5 separate regions of the Homo sapiens genome follow, and all the other regions are linked to region 2. Evidence: promoter capture Hi-C in 16 types of primary human blood cells and fetal thymus (Javierre and others, 2016). All regions are on one chromosome and are shown on one strand. Each heading gives the region's core, a stretch centred on a gene start or on the middle of the fragment in contact. The rest is flanking DNA. Distances are from core to core; before and after follow the strand shown.

Evidence for each region. The method cuts DNA at HindIII sites, captures the fragments that hold promoters and counts their contacts. A CHiCAGO score of 5 or more calls a contact.
Region 1: a contact is called between a fragment that was not itself captured here and the fragment with the promoter of SH3RF2 in region 2, in 2 of 17 cell types (M0 macrophages and M1 macrophages). The highest score is 15.9, in M0 macrophages.
Region 3: a fragment that was not itself captured here is called in contact with the fragment with the promoter of SH3RF2 in region 2 in 1 of 17 cell types (total B cells); the score reaches 5.7 in total B cells.
Region 4: a contact is called between a fragment that was not itself captured here and the fragment with the promoter of SH3RF2 in region 2, in 3 of 17 cell types (M1 macrophages, naive B cells and M2 macrophages). The highest score is 9.5, in M1 macrophages.
Region 5: a fragment that was not itself captured here is called in contact with the fragment with the promoter of SH3RF2 in region 2 in 2 of 17 cell types (naive B cells and total B cells); the score reaches 5.9 in naive B cells.

The regions. Positions count from the first base shown.
Region 1 is chr5:144,191,974-144,194,673 of GRCh38, forward strand. All of the region lies in intron 2 of KCTD16 (potassium channel tetramerization domain containing 16), which reads left to right. Among named protein-coding and RNA genes, the nearest start is that of KCTD16, 22 kb to the left of the region's middle. The HindIII fragment of the contact is 5,543 bases long and covers 1-2,700 here.
Region 2 is chr5:145,935,295-145,937,994 of GRCh38, forward strand. It overlaps SH3RF2 (SH3 domain containing ring finger 2), which reads left to right and starts at 1,284. Exons shown (of 10, transcript NM_152550.4): 1 at 1,284-1,400; 2 at 2,529-2,700. The coding sequence starts at 2,635. It overlaps LOC107986458 (a long non-coding RNA gene), which reads right to left. Exons shown (of 4, transcript XR_001742913.2): 4 at 407-469. RefSeq lists an enhancer at 1,022-1,599. The HindIII fragment of the contact is 1,154 bases long and covers 757-1,910 here.
Region 3 is chr5:144,245,455-144,248,154 of GRCh38, forward strand. All of the region lies in intron 3 of KCTD16 (potassium channel tetramerization domain containing 16), which reads left to right. Among named protein-coding and RNA genes, the nearest start is that of KCTD16, 76 kb to the left of the region's middle. The HindIII fragment of the contact is 1,116 bases long and covers 697-1,812 here.
Region 4 is chr5:144,213,091-144,215,790 of GRCh38, forward strand. The region is part of intron 3 of KCTD16 (potassium channel tetramerization domain containing 16); the gene reads left to right. Among named protein-coding and RNA genes, the nearest start is that of KCTD16, 44 kb to the left of the region's middle. The HindIII fragment of the contact is 760 bases long and covers 994-1,753 here.
Region 5 is chr5:144,264,783-144,267,482 of GRCh38, forward strand. The region is part of intron 3 of KCTD16 (potassium channel tetramerization domain containing 16); the gene reads left to right. Among named protein-coding and RNA genes, the nearest start is that of KCTD16, 95 kb to the left of the region's middle. The HindIII fragment of the contact is 4,011 bases long and covers 1-2,700 here.

The sequences.
Region 1 (2,700 bases), core at 2-2,501, 1.7 Mb before region 2:
AGAGACAGGCTTGCATTTCTTGAGGCTACAGTGAGAAGGGATCAGTTTCTTATAGGGCTTGGCAGGGTATGTCAAGTTGGTGGACCAAAGGGGGCATCTCATTGCTGACTTTGGGAGCTTAAGACTTCACAAGTGGAAAGAAATTAGTAATTGAAATTGGGACTCAGTTGAGGATGCTGGGTAAGTGAACAGTGTTACTCAGGGTGACTTTCAGTTTCTCTTCTTCAAGGTTTCAGGTTGATGCAAGAGACTGTGATAACACTGCCCCCTTCTGTTACTCTAGATTGTTAATCCTGATGACGTCTCAAGTCGGCTTTGATGATCTTGACATGAATTTTTGATTTCTAAGAAATGCTTACTTAAGGCAGAAGAGAAAGGAAATCATATGTTCAATGTGATACACGATTTCATTCTATCAAGTTCTGCCTTTTTATAGTTTGCTTAATCATTACATTTTGTCATGAGGTTTCACTTAATTGCATTATAATGGGAGATTTTAGACCAGGGAACGAATAAAGCGAAGGATTGTAACAAAATCAATTAATTCATCTATTTATTTGTGTTCTAAGGGGTTACATGATTTCTTCTAGTTCCTAGAGCTTTCCTATTTCTTCCCTTGGAAGTTAAAGCAAGCCACTGGTTGAGGCACTGTGGCTTTTTCATTTATGACAGAACCTTTCAGATTTTAAGAGCAGTTGAAGAGCTGTGAATGCTGGTCCTTCACATATCAAAAACCAGCACCACTTTCTATGAATATCACTATTTTTGAAATGATTTATCTCAGAACTTTTGAATGTCTCTGTAACCATTTTTTTCCCTTTCCTTATCAGCCCATTTGTATGGAACTCTAAAGAAGGTGAGGCCAGATAGCAGAGAGCTTTGAATATACACCAAGGACTTTGGAGTTTATTCTATGAGCAGTGGTGAGCCAATTAAGATATCTGGGCAAATAATGGCATCTTTAGAAAGAGGACACTGTTAGCTTTGTGTCAAATGAACTGAGATGTAAAAACTTGAAAGGAGGAAGAACATTAACAGGTCCATATAGAAATACCACCACCTGTACCCCCAAAATCCTTGCTAGCTTTTCCTCATGTATTCTACTTCACTCTGGTCTGAGACATCATCATATATCACTAAATCCCTGTAAATTCTCCCCACTGATCTCCCTACAACTAATTTTGTTTCCCTGACAATCTGTTATCCCCATATCAGCCAAAGTCACCTTTTAAAAAGTAAGCAAACCAGAACATGTCACTTCTAACTTTAAATTCCCAATGACTTCCCATAACACATAGAATGAAATCTGTGGTTTGGTCCCTGCCTACTTCTCAGACCTGCACTCTCACCCTTGCTCATTGGGATCCAACTTGCTGGCTTTCTTGGTTCCTTGAACAAGCCGAGCTTAGTTTCACCTCAGACAGCTGAGCCTTTGCTGTTTCCATTCCACCTGCCTAGAGCACACTGTTCCCAGCATTTCACATAGCTGGCTCCCCTCCCCAGAGTCTCAGCCTGCAGTATCAATCCTCTTCTCCTTGCCCCAAACAAGATTTTTTAAATATTACCTATTCTATTTTATTCATAGCTCATTTCACTATATGAAATGATCTTGCTCATTTATTTGTTTATTTGTTTATGATCTGTGTGTCTGGCCTATAATGGAAGTTCCATGATGGCAAAGAGCTGGTCTACTTTATTCATTTCTGGATCCCCAACACATAGAGCTTATAGCTTAGTGTTGTGCCTGGCTCATGGCTCCATAATTATTTCTTAGTCAAATTTGGGTAAAAGGCAAAGAACAAAGGTACGACAAATGGAAGCGAAGAGAAGAGATATCTGAAAGAAGTATAGTAGAGAAAGTGGGTAGACTTAATTATTGAGTGTTGGGTGCCAATGGAAAGGGAGGGATCAGATGATGGATTTTCACTTGGACTGAGAAACCTGTGATGCTCTTAACACAGAAGGAGAACTTGGAGAAATGAAAAAGATGAGAGTGGAAAACAGATATTTAGCTTAGGACTCGAGTGTAAGGTGCTGGTAGATCTCTGTAAAAATGCCCAGCAGGTGTATGGAAGTTGAGAAGAAAGCAAGGCCAAGCATTTAGGTGTTACAGTCATTTGCATACAGTGAAGATGGTTCACCGAGACTGAATTAGTCAACAAGGGGGAATATTTAGGAAGAAAGAAGAGAACATTAAAAATGTGCAGACTTTCACTCAGATATCCTTGTATATAAAGCACCATGCTGGGACAAGTGACATCTAACAAATGAGGAACAAGCTCTGGAGCTTATGGGGCCAGAGATGGTGACACTGATAACTTGTCAAGTAGAAAATGTGTTATCCATGCGGGAAACATTACAACACTGCCGTATGGTGCTCTTTGACTTATCCAAACCACCTCTCAGTAGGAGGCTCTGCATCCTCAAGGGAGATTTATATGATTGCTCTGTTTCCTTCCCTTCACATCTGTAAGGGGTCCAGAGTAAGGATTGGTCAATGTTAGTGATGTGGCTCTACCCTGAGCTCTTGTGGAGCTAATAATTAGAACAGTTTGGGGAAGGAGAGAATTCATTTTTAAAAAGACACGAAGCAATGTGTTTGTAATAGCAAATGATACATTTGTTGAGCATTTACTATGGGCCAGTTAGTGCACTAAGCATTTAACATGCATTATTTATTTAGTTCTCACAAAACTCTGT
Region 2 (2,700 bases), core at 34-2,533:
TGTCCATTATCTTTTGACCTCTTGCCCTCTTAGGGGAGGCTTAGCTCCCTTGAACCACCTCTTCACCTCTTTTTTTTTTTTTTTTTTTTTGTCGCCCTGGCTGGAGTGCAGTGGCACGATCTCAGCTCACTCCAGCCTCCGCCTCCCAGGTTCAAGCGATTCTCCTGCCTCAGCCTCCTGAGTAGCTGGGACTTCAGGTGCGCACCACCATGCCCAGCTAATTTTTGTATTTTTAGTAGAAATGAGGTTTCACCATGTTGGTCAGGATGGTCTTGATCTCCTGACCTTGTGATCTGCCCACGTCGGCCTCCCAAAGTGTTGGGATTACAGGCATGAGCCACTGCGCCTGGCCAGCCTCTTAAAGTTATATCACTCCATGACATTGTTAAGAGCACAGCCCACTTGCCTTCTGCTAGCTGTGACTCCCGAGATGAGTTATTTATCCTCTCTGTGTCTCAAGTTCCCTCATCTGCAAGATGAAAGTAAAGAATAGTTTAGTGTCTCCTTGGGTTGTTAAGGGGTTAAAGGGCTAACACAGGTAAGGTATTTAGAACAGTGGTTGACACAGATAAGGACTACCCTGGCATTAAGATTGTTATTATTCACTTAATCGGATACCTTTGTAATTTTACATGAAATGTATTATCGATAAATCAAAAAATAGAAATATAGGCATAATCTGAGGATATGAAAAGACTACAGTGGATAACAGGCAGGAGGAGAGCTTGGAGGCCACTGCTTTTCCTTTTTTGAAAAAGCTTCTCTGTGCTTTGATTTTTCACGTATGTGTATATACGTGACACTAGTTTTTTAATTTAAACAGATTGAGCAAAAAGATCACTAAAGTCCCTCTTATCTCTAAATTCAGAGATTGACTATGATTTTCAAAGAGCAATATTTTCTAGGTGTCCGACTTATCCTTGTTTTCATAGCTTGACCATTTTTACTTTTGACCTTCCCAGGAAATCCTTATGAAGATTTAAAATAAACACAATCACTTTGGTATGTTTATAATGGAGCAGGTTCTGACTCCTTGGATACTACAGAAAACGGGAAAGGTGAAAATATGAACTTTGTAAATACTTGGCCTTAGGGACTGGCTTATATTTTACCTCTTACAATCTTTTCCCAGAAGCAATTCAGTAAACTGAAGGAAAGATCATAAAGTTAACAACTGCAACAACAAAAGCGTGGTAAGTAGGCAGCGCCCTGGCAGTGAAAGCGTTAACAGGGCTGGGTAAGGCGATCCCTTGAAATGAGTAAGACTGAGTGGTTAAAGTTTTCAAAGCGGTTGGCAGCAGCGGCGCTTGGAGGAAAGGAAGCCGGTTGGAGGGCGCAGCGCACCCCTGCTGCGCGGAGGAGGGGGCTGAGCTGAACTCAGCAGAAGTTACATGCACAAGGTTAGTGGCCCCCACACGCCTCCCCAGCCCGCTGCCGCGCTGACATCTTTGGAGAGGAGGCTTAGGAAGGCGAGGCGCCATCGCTCATTCTCGGTCGTGTCTGTCCTGCTTACTAGTCGCTAGTGGGGCCACTGGCCTTCTCGCCAAACCTCTGGGCTCGGTGCTTACCGAAGCCCTGGCACTTGTGAGGGACAGCTGACTTCTTCCAGACTTTTCTAAACTGGAGGCTTCTTTTCATACATCCAAAAGGAAACTTGTTTCTGGAACAAGTACTGTTTTCAGAGTACACACACACACGACCCCTACCTGTATATGCTGCCCCAGTACGGTTTTTACAGGTCGTGACCACAATCCAGAATTCCTATCTGCTTCATTTGAAATTGAGAACAATGTCAAAGTAACTAAACAGGCTGCACTACTTTACCTTGTGGGAGGAACATTGTCTCTGAGCCTAAGGTAATCGGGATGAGGAGAGAAAAAAAAAAAAAGATGAAAAAAGAAAAGAAACAAAGCTTCCAAGCACCCTGACCTGTGGTTAAGGCAAAACAATTTTTGGAAATGGGTTTCTAGTGGAAATTTTTCTTGTACATTGCTAGAATCATGTGGGAAGGTATATTGTGAAGGAAATAATTCTACATCTGCATGAGATTCAGATAAACTTACCCACCTAAACTAATCTGCATGTGGTGCAGATAATAGATACATTTAGATTTAGGGGAAGGAGGAGGAGGAGATAGCTTCACAGAAATTGCGTTCGGAGGGGGCTTTGTTGTAAGAATTGAGACTGTCCAGGAGCTTTCCCCGGGCAGGGGGTAAAGGACCTCTTCCCGCCCTGGCTGGTAGAGAGGGGTTGGGGGGCCACTTCAGCAGGCCAGTTTATCTCCCTGCTTTCCTGTCCACATAGGCAATAAGCAGTCAGTCTTGTGCTGAATGTTCCCTCTGATCCTCACAGCAAGCACGAGTTGAGTCTTATACCTGCTAGCATTGAATCAGAATGAGTCATTTGAAACTTGGGTGCCGGAACAAAGTACTTGCAAACTGCCTTATGAGACACTGCCTCAATGTAGGTGGGATATACCTCTCGGAGCAGTCACATTTTTTTTTCTCTCCTCTCCCTCCTTCAAGCAGGCAAAAATTCTGACGTTCTCAAGAGACCAGCTCTGCCCCCGTGGCTCAACTGACCCTACCATGTGGACGCTGCTCCTCCAGGTGGGAACTGGAGTTTTGAAATAAAATGGATGATTTGACGTTACTTGATCTTCTGGAGTGCCCTGTGTGCTTTGAGAAGCTCGATGTCACA
Region 3 (2,700 bases), core at 5-2,504, 1.7 Mb before region 2:
AAAATCTGCAAAAGTCTTGAGGGAGGAAGAAGAATGACATGTCTGAAGAACTCAAAAGGGTCCAGAATGGGAGGAAAGCAGAGGACAAAGAGGAAGTGGGGCTGATGTGGTTTGGATCTGTGTCCCCATCCAAATCTCATGTTCAACTGTAATCCCCAATCTTGGAGGTCAGGTCTGGTGGGAGGTGATTGGATCATGGAGGCTGTTTCTCATGGTTTAACATCATCCCCCTTGGAGCGGTTGTTGCAATAGTGAGTTCTCATGACATCTGGTTGTTTAAAAGTGTGTAGTACTTCCCCCTCCTCTCTCTTCATCCTGCTTTGGCCACGTGAAGTGCTGGCTCCCCCTTCACCTTCTGCCATGACTGTAAATTCCCTGAGGCCTCCCCAGAAGCAAATGCTGCCATGCTTCCTATGAAGCCTGCAGAACCATGGGCCAATTAAACCTTTTTTCTTTATAAATTACCCAGTCTCAGCTATCTCTTTATAGCAATGTAAGAATGGACTAACATGGGGACACAAGATGGCATTGAGATTCAGACACTACAGGGCTTTTTGGGCTATGGTAAGAATTGTGGTCTTTATCCTAAGGACAGTCAGTGAGCACTCTTGAGGTGTACAGGGCAATGATGTTATGAGTAAGGATGCTGCATCACAGAGATCAGCTGATGTTTGGGCAGAGAGTTGGTCTTCATCAAGCTTCATATTAGTCAGCTGAGTCTCCACTTTTCTATCATTATGTTTATAGGGAAGAGTAATTTAATGTGAACTCTTCAATCCAGAGTGGGGCTTGTAAGTTTTTGTTTGGGAGTGCATTATCAAAAAAGCACTGAATATAATTCCAGGTAACATTAAAAAATTATCAGGCTATGTCCATTTGCTCAATAAATGGTGGCTATTTTGCAGAAGCCATTAGGATACAAATAAGGGAAATCTGGCTTTGAGTTACATCTGATAAACATTTATTTAGGGGACAAAATATTGGGAATATCCAAACAATAGAATATCTTGTTTCATTCTGTTTAAAATCTAATAGAATAAAATAATTAATATAGAACTTTTATGGCATGTAATTTTTAAATTAAAGTTTTAAATACTTGTTGTGTGTTAACTTAGGAGAAACTGGATATAGGGTATTGTGTACCCTATCTCCATATCACCTCAAGTAAAACACAACAAATCACCAAATGATAATTTAACATTGACAAGGTACCATCATTGACAAGGTGCCAACATTGACAAGGTACCATAATCATTAAAATCAAGCCTTTATTGATCTCCTTCTCCTCCTCCTCCTTCTTCTTCATCATTGTCATCGTCCTTGTCATCATCGTCTCCCCTTTTCAGGCCCTCTGATTTCTGTGTCATTCCTCCAACTCCCACATCATGTTCTTTCTTGCCTCCTCTAGCCATGGAGAAGATGTATCAGGGAGAGCATGAACTTTGGAGTCAGTTATACATTGGTTTGGCTCTCAGCAACACCTGTCAACAGTGTGATCTTGAGCAAATCATTTAGCCTTTTGCAGTTCATGTTCCTTTTACTGTAAATTCAAGATAATGGCATTTCTCAGGGGTATTGTGAGAATTAACTTAGTTTATTAGGTAAAGCACTTATTCTAGTTTCTGTGGGATTATGTTTTTCAATGATGGTGGTTGCAATAGCTCCCATCCCATACACTCTTTTACATGACCAGCTACCCTAATATTCAAAGATAGGGATTATTTCTTCTCTGTGACTTGTGACTGCTTTGACCACAGAGTATGATGGAAATGATGACTATGACTTCCAAGACTGGGTAATGAAAGACATTGAAGCTTCTGCTTTGTTTACTGAAACACTTCCTCTGGGGGCCCTGAGCTGTCATGTAAGAAATCTGATCACCCTGAGGCAACTCAGGCACACAGAGAGACTACTGGGAGGCTCTGTCAACAGCTTCTGTTGAGATCCCAGCCACCAGCCTGCATTAGCTGCCAGTTGTGTGAGGGGAGAGACCTATAGATGATTTTAGTTCCCAGCAATCAAGTCTTTCCAGCTGTGGCTCCAAACATGGGAGCACAGATAAACTATTCCCACTGTGCTGTCTGAATTTCTGGCCCATAAAATCTGTGAATATGATAAAATAGTTGTTTGAAGCTGGTTGTGGGGTAGGTAAGTGTTGGTAGCAACTGGAACAGTTTTCAATAAATTATAGTAATTAATACCATGATCATGATTATTATTATTACCTACTTTACAGGGTAATTTTTATGTAATACATTACCAGAAAAGTAAACCAACCAATACTGCTGATTATGAACACACTTAAAGCCTAGAAGATGTTGTAGACTATTTCTTAATTTTCCCTCTAAGTCATTGTTTTCAATGGGTGTCCAACGGTGTCTTCTCTCTCAGGACTTCCTCCTACTTCTCTAATTTTCCCACCATCTTGTCTGTCCACTGTTCTTCCCTGCAAGCAACACCTGATGAGCAGGTCCTGGGCTATTTTCCATGCTCAGTGACTCTGACGTTAGGAGGAGGCATGTGATTTCAGATTCTTCATTTATGTCATAAATATTTATTGAGCTTCTTTTATGTAGCACTGGGAATGTGGCAATGACTGAGACAGATAACCTTGCCCTTATGGAGCTTTCTTTCCATTTTGGGGAATTAAACAATGTGTCAGATAAATAATCAAAATATACAGTACGGGAGAAGGAAGTA
Region 4 (2,700 bases), core at 124-2,623, 1.7 Mb before region 2:
ATTAATAATTCTTTAATATTATCAAATATCTAGTCAGTGTTTAAAGTTTCCTGATTTCTTCACAATGTTTTAAAAGTTGGTTTGAATCAAGATGCAAATGAAATCTACATATTATATTATATTTGTTTGCTAATTTTCTTTTCTCTCATCATTTAAAAAATATTGCATATAACTTATATGCAACAAAGTGGTAAAATGTCCATCTTACATCTCTTTTAATTCCTCCCTTTCTTTCTCTTGCTCTATTCCCTTTTCTCTCTCTCTTTTCCCTTCCCTTCCCTTCTTTCTCTTTCTTTCTTTCTTTCTCTCTCTTTCTTTTTTTCTCTCTCTCTTTCTTTTTCTTTCTCCTCTTTTTTACAACTTACTTGTTTCATGAAATCAAGTTGTCATGTTGAATATCTTGCATTCTGGGTTTTGCTCATCCATCTCTATGATCTCCGTGATATTATGAACACACCCTCCTCAATCCTTATGTTTTTGGTAAGCTCGTTAGATCTAGACTCCAGATTTTAGAGGCCTAATCAAATTCACTCAGTATTTCTGACAAGTTTTCACAGGTGACAGCAAGTTCATTTTACAATTTGCATTGGAGGATTGAAATGCTATATGTTATGGAGGCAAGGTAAGGGCATGTTTTTATTGTTAGCTTTTACATATTTATCATCTGAATCAATAGCTATTGGGTGTATTCTCTCCATTGTTCAAGTTGATTCTGATGACAAAGCAGGCATTCAAAGAGGTCCCTTATTTTCTCTCCAGTCATTCAAGGTCTAGTATTGCACTTCCATTCTTGTCATTAGATTAGGCTACCATTCAGGTGCTGCAGTGGTAGCCTGCTGAGCTTACCAAGATGTGCAGTGGGCCCTGTTGACTATGAGAATCATTTTGGGTAGAAAAGTTTGCCTTCTGGCTATTCTGATTTTACATTTGAGTATCTTTGTATTTTTTCAATTGTGCTGAAACTCCACTGAACTTAACCATTTGTGTTTCCCAAGCTTCTTCTCTAAATGGCATTGTTAGTCACTTAGTTGCCCAAGGAGGAATAAAACATAGGTGACATTCCTGATTCTTTCTTCTCCCCACTTTCTCCAATCTCCAACAAGTCCTGTTGGTTCTTCTCCTTCATCTCCCTCAGGTCCGTCCTCTTCTTTCCATCTCCGCTGATGGAAAGGCCATGAGCATTCCTTTATTGCTTTTCTATACTATTGCAAATGAGCTTAAATTGTTCTCCCCCTCCCGCATCCAGTATTTTCCCCTTTGGATCTATCCTCCTTGCTGCAAATATGATGAGATTTCTAAGGAGTGACTGACCATGTCACTCCTTTGCTTAAAGTTCATAATTGTCTTACAACTGCTCTTGTATTCAAATACAAACTCTTTAACATGAACCACATCCTTTTGTGAAATCGCTTCTGCTTCCCTCCTCAGCCTCTACTGTTGCCATTCTGCCCTCTTTGCATTTATAACCTTAGCCATAACAGATCTTTTTTAGTTCTTGGATACTTTTGTGTACTTGCATGTTCATTTTTTGTGAGTGATGTTCCCTCTGCCTGGAACTCTGCCTCCATCTGCTTTGGTTAGCTAAATGTTCAGTTTCCCAATCCAGAAGTTACTTCTTCTGGGAAGACTTTCCTAGTCCACCATACCTGGATTAGGTACCCCTTATCTTTGCCTCTTAAGATCCTATTTTTCTATATCACAGCACATATAATAATGTATTCTACTTGGTTATTTACCTGTCTTTCCAACTGTAAGCTTTGTGAAGCCAGAAGCTATATCTGTCATCTTCATTATTGTACCTGATTCAGTGCCTGGAACAAATGTAGGTATAGTACTTTATAAATATTTCTTTAGAATGCATTTTTAAAAGTTCTTACTGCAATATTCTGTTTTGGTCATAGATGCTACTGTCTTGAATATACTATTGTATTGTCTCTTAATAGAAGAACTGGAGGGCAGTGATGGTTTGATTGATGCTTTAAATAATAATAATAATGTTATTTTCTAACTTTCACTGAGTGCTAAGCATTTTACATACTAGTTGGATTTCTCACTGAAAGGTGCTCTACTCTTCGCACCTGCGCAAAGATTCTAGCTCTAGGGAACTGAGAAAAACACTTACCAGCAGCAAAGACTCCTGTGGTCTCCTTTTAGTTGGTTCATCCAAGCAGGAGTAAATTGAAGCTGGATGTGACCAGGGTTTAAGGAGCAACCCAGGATTCAGAAAAGTGCTGCAAAATTGATAAATATCCCCAATAGAAAAAGAGCTCTACTAGAAGGCAACTGTACTGTGAGACCGACAAGGTTGCCTTCTTAATTTTCTTACTGCCAAAGTATTCCATTTCCTCTTCTCTTCCCATAAATGTTAATTATCATTTCTTAATGCCAGAGGCAGCATAACATAGTGGTTAAGAGCCTGGATTTTGGTGCCCAGGCAGCTTGAGGTTGAATCTCAACTTTGCTACCACCAGATACATGATCATTAGCAAATTGCTTCCGTGCCTCAGTTTCCTCAACTGTAAAATGGAAAGGATAACAATAGTACTTGCCACATAGAGTTGTTATGATAATTAAATGGGTTGATATATAGAAAGTGCTTAAAACAGTGCCAGACACCCAGTCAGTGCAATAGAAGCCTTAGTAAATATGAGGACCTCTGGGAATACTGGCATGGATAAGACATAAGTGCTTCCTTTAAAT
Region 5 (2,700 bases), core at 28-2,527, 1.7 Mb before region 2:
CAGAAACGATTAACAATAGGATGACTTTAAGTCTCAAACTTTTCCTTGTGTACTTAAAAGTTTAATTTAGTCAAAACTCATATACATGTAATATTTAGCACTAATCACATAATTTAAGGCACATGTTTACTAAAAAAACTCCATACAATTTCAATCAGTTATAATGAGATAAGTGCAACAGAAATGAGTAAATCTTCCTTGGGAAATTTGGCATTTAAACTCTTGCCAGAGACATATACTTCCTAGCTGTTAGCAATCTTAACTCTCTACTATAGAAGAATAAAACTATAGCAAATTGAGTTGTGTTCTAATTTTCCGTAAAAGGAAATTGTTCCATTACCTTATCAATCCAACAGTTGTAAGGAGAAAATTATCTACTTATGAGAACTTTACAGGTGTCAGAAATGTGTATTTACATTTTTTTTTCCAAAACAGAAGGACATTAGCATGGTTTAATATTATTACCTTAATCACAAGCAGGTAAGATAGTTAAAAACAGTGAAAACAAACAGCAAAAATAACAACTGCTGCATGCCAGTATAATATCCTGCTTTTCCACTGACACTTTTATTTTCATCTCCCTCTCTAAGGATTTCTTTATTCATAAGGAGAATGACTATACCGTCAATTGATTTTATATTATGAGAGTTGTTGGAATAATACGATCTCCTTGTAATACTTTGTCAGAAAACACACTGAAGTTAAGGAAACAACCCAGGATCTTGAAACAAACTCCTGCCCATGCCTCTGGCTTTATTCAACCTAAATGCTAACAATTTTAAAGACTGTAATCTCCAAGAAGACTAGGAATTCACGAAGTTGGCTGTATCTTCTATGCCCAAAACTGTGCTTGGTTCTTAGAACACTCTTAAATATTGTTGAATGAATGAACCATCATCATAAAAGCTACTATTTAGGAACATAAATATATGTCATGTGTGATAATCAAGATGTATTTGAAACTGTCATTTAATATGCCAATTCTAGTCCTGACAGCAATTCTAATCTATGGTTATTACTATTTGTATTGTCTCATTGAGAAAACAAGCTCAGAAATATTACGTAATGTGCCAAGTTCGTACAGGGATACTATTAGGAATTCAAAGCTAGATATATCTAATATCAGTGCTTCAGCTTTTTTCTCCTATATATGGCCTCAAAAAGGGTATTATGTATGAAAATGGAAAACTCAATAGTTTACATTCAGAATCAGGTTCTTTCATGTGGTCAGAGGATATTAACATTACTTTTAAAAACATTGAATCCAGATGTGTTTCTGGAATTGCGAAAACAGATTTTCCCAGTGTGTTGCCTCTGAGAGGTTGGGGACAGCCTTTGATGAATGACAACATTAATAATACTTTTAGGCTATGGTTAAAAAACAACAAATATATGTAAGTATGTATGCATGCATGCATATATGTATATGAGTACATTGTCTTCAATTCTCCTTTGTCACTGCCTAACTTTTCTCAATCTGGCACCTGGGGGAAATAAAAAACTGAGAGAGACACCTTGACTGGATAGCTCCTTTCCACAACCTGTATGGAAAGGAGCTGGGCTGCCTTTTGAGGTGAATGGACAGCTGTAGCCAAAGAGAGCCTAGAATATTTGAAGAAGGCAGTAGAGGGTAGCACCAAAACAACGCTGCAGGAGATGAGAGCATCAAAAAGATTTGTTCACCAGAATTTGCAGTTTCCTGCAACTTTATAAATAATTCACTTGGGTAATGTTTCATCAAGAACTGCACAATTGACCTCAAAGCCTGAGAATCTAATGGGCTTATTTAAAAAATGTCTAAATAGAAGCACATCAAGGCTTTGACCAAATACCCTTCCCTAACCTTGTTATGTTTTCTTCCTTCTTGGAGATAAATCTGTAAAACACAAATGAGTTTGTTGTAATTGCCCACCTAGTGTTTAAAATTACAGCTTCAGAGTCATGCTTAATAGGCAATGTGCACAAAGTATATGAACCCAGCTAATCACACAAGATTTCTATTTTTTTTTTATAGCCAGCAGTTGGATACTGTGCTCATCTCTGGGAAAAAATTCATTGAAGCAGACCTTTATTTTACCTCTTTGCTGACCTATTTTTTTCTGTCCTATGATACAGATATTTTAGTTCATCTGGTCCTGAAGCATGAATTTTGGCCAAAGCCTCTTATTCGGTTGGTGCAAAAGTAATTGCGATTTTTGCTAACTAATTCACTGGTTTATATATATTTTTTTCCTTGACACACATACCTTGCATGCAGTAATTATAAAATTAAATCTTCTGGTCATGAGGTGAAATCAGCAGAAAAATGTTGGATGATTTATAAAACTCTATCACCATTCTCAAGGATAGATCCTAAGTATTTGCCAAAGATGATGGTTCCTTACAGAAGATGAATAAGATTGGCTAAGTGGTACAAGAGTGAGATCTGTGTCAGATGGCCTGGTTTGAACCTATGCCCCACCGTATATGAACTGTGTGACATTGAGCACCTTCCTTAACTTTCTGTACCTCAGTTTCCTTGCTTATTAACTGTGGATAATGATTGTTCAAACCTAGGGAGGTTACTTTGAAGATTAATTCAGTCAAAAAAATGGAAGGCACATAGGGAAAGACTGGGGCATGGGAAGCACTTTAAAATGCTGGTTGTTCTTAATTATCCTAAGCATTATGTGAGACAAGCCTCACTTGCTATGTGAGGCT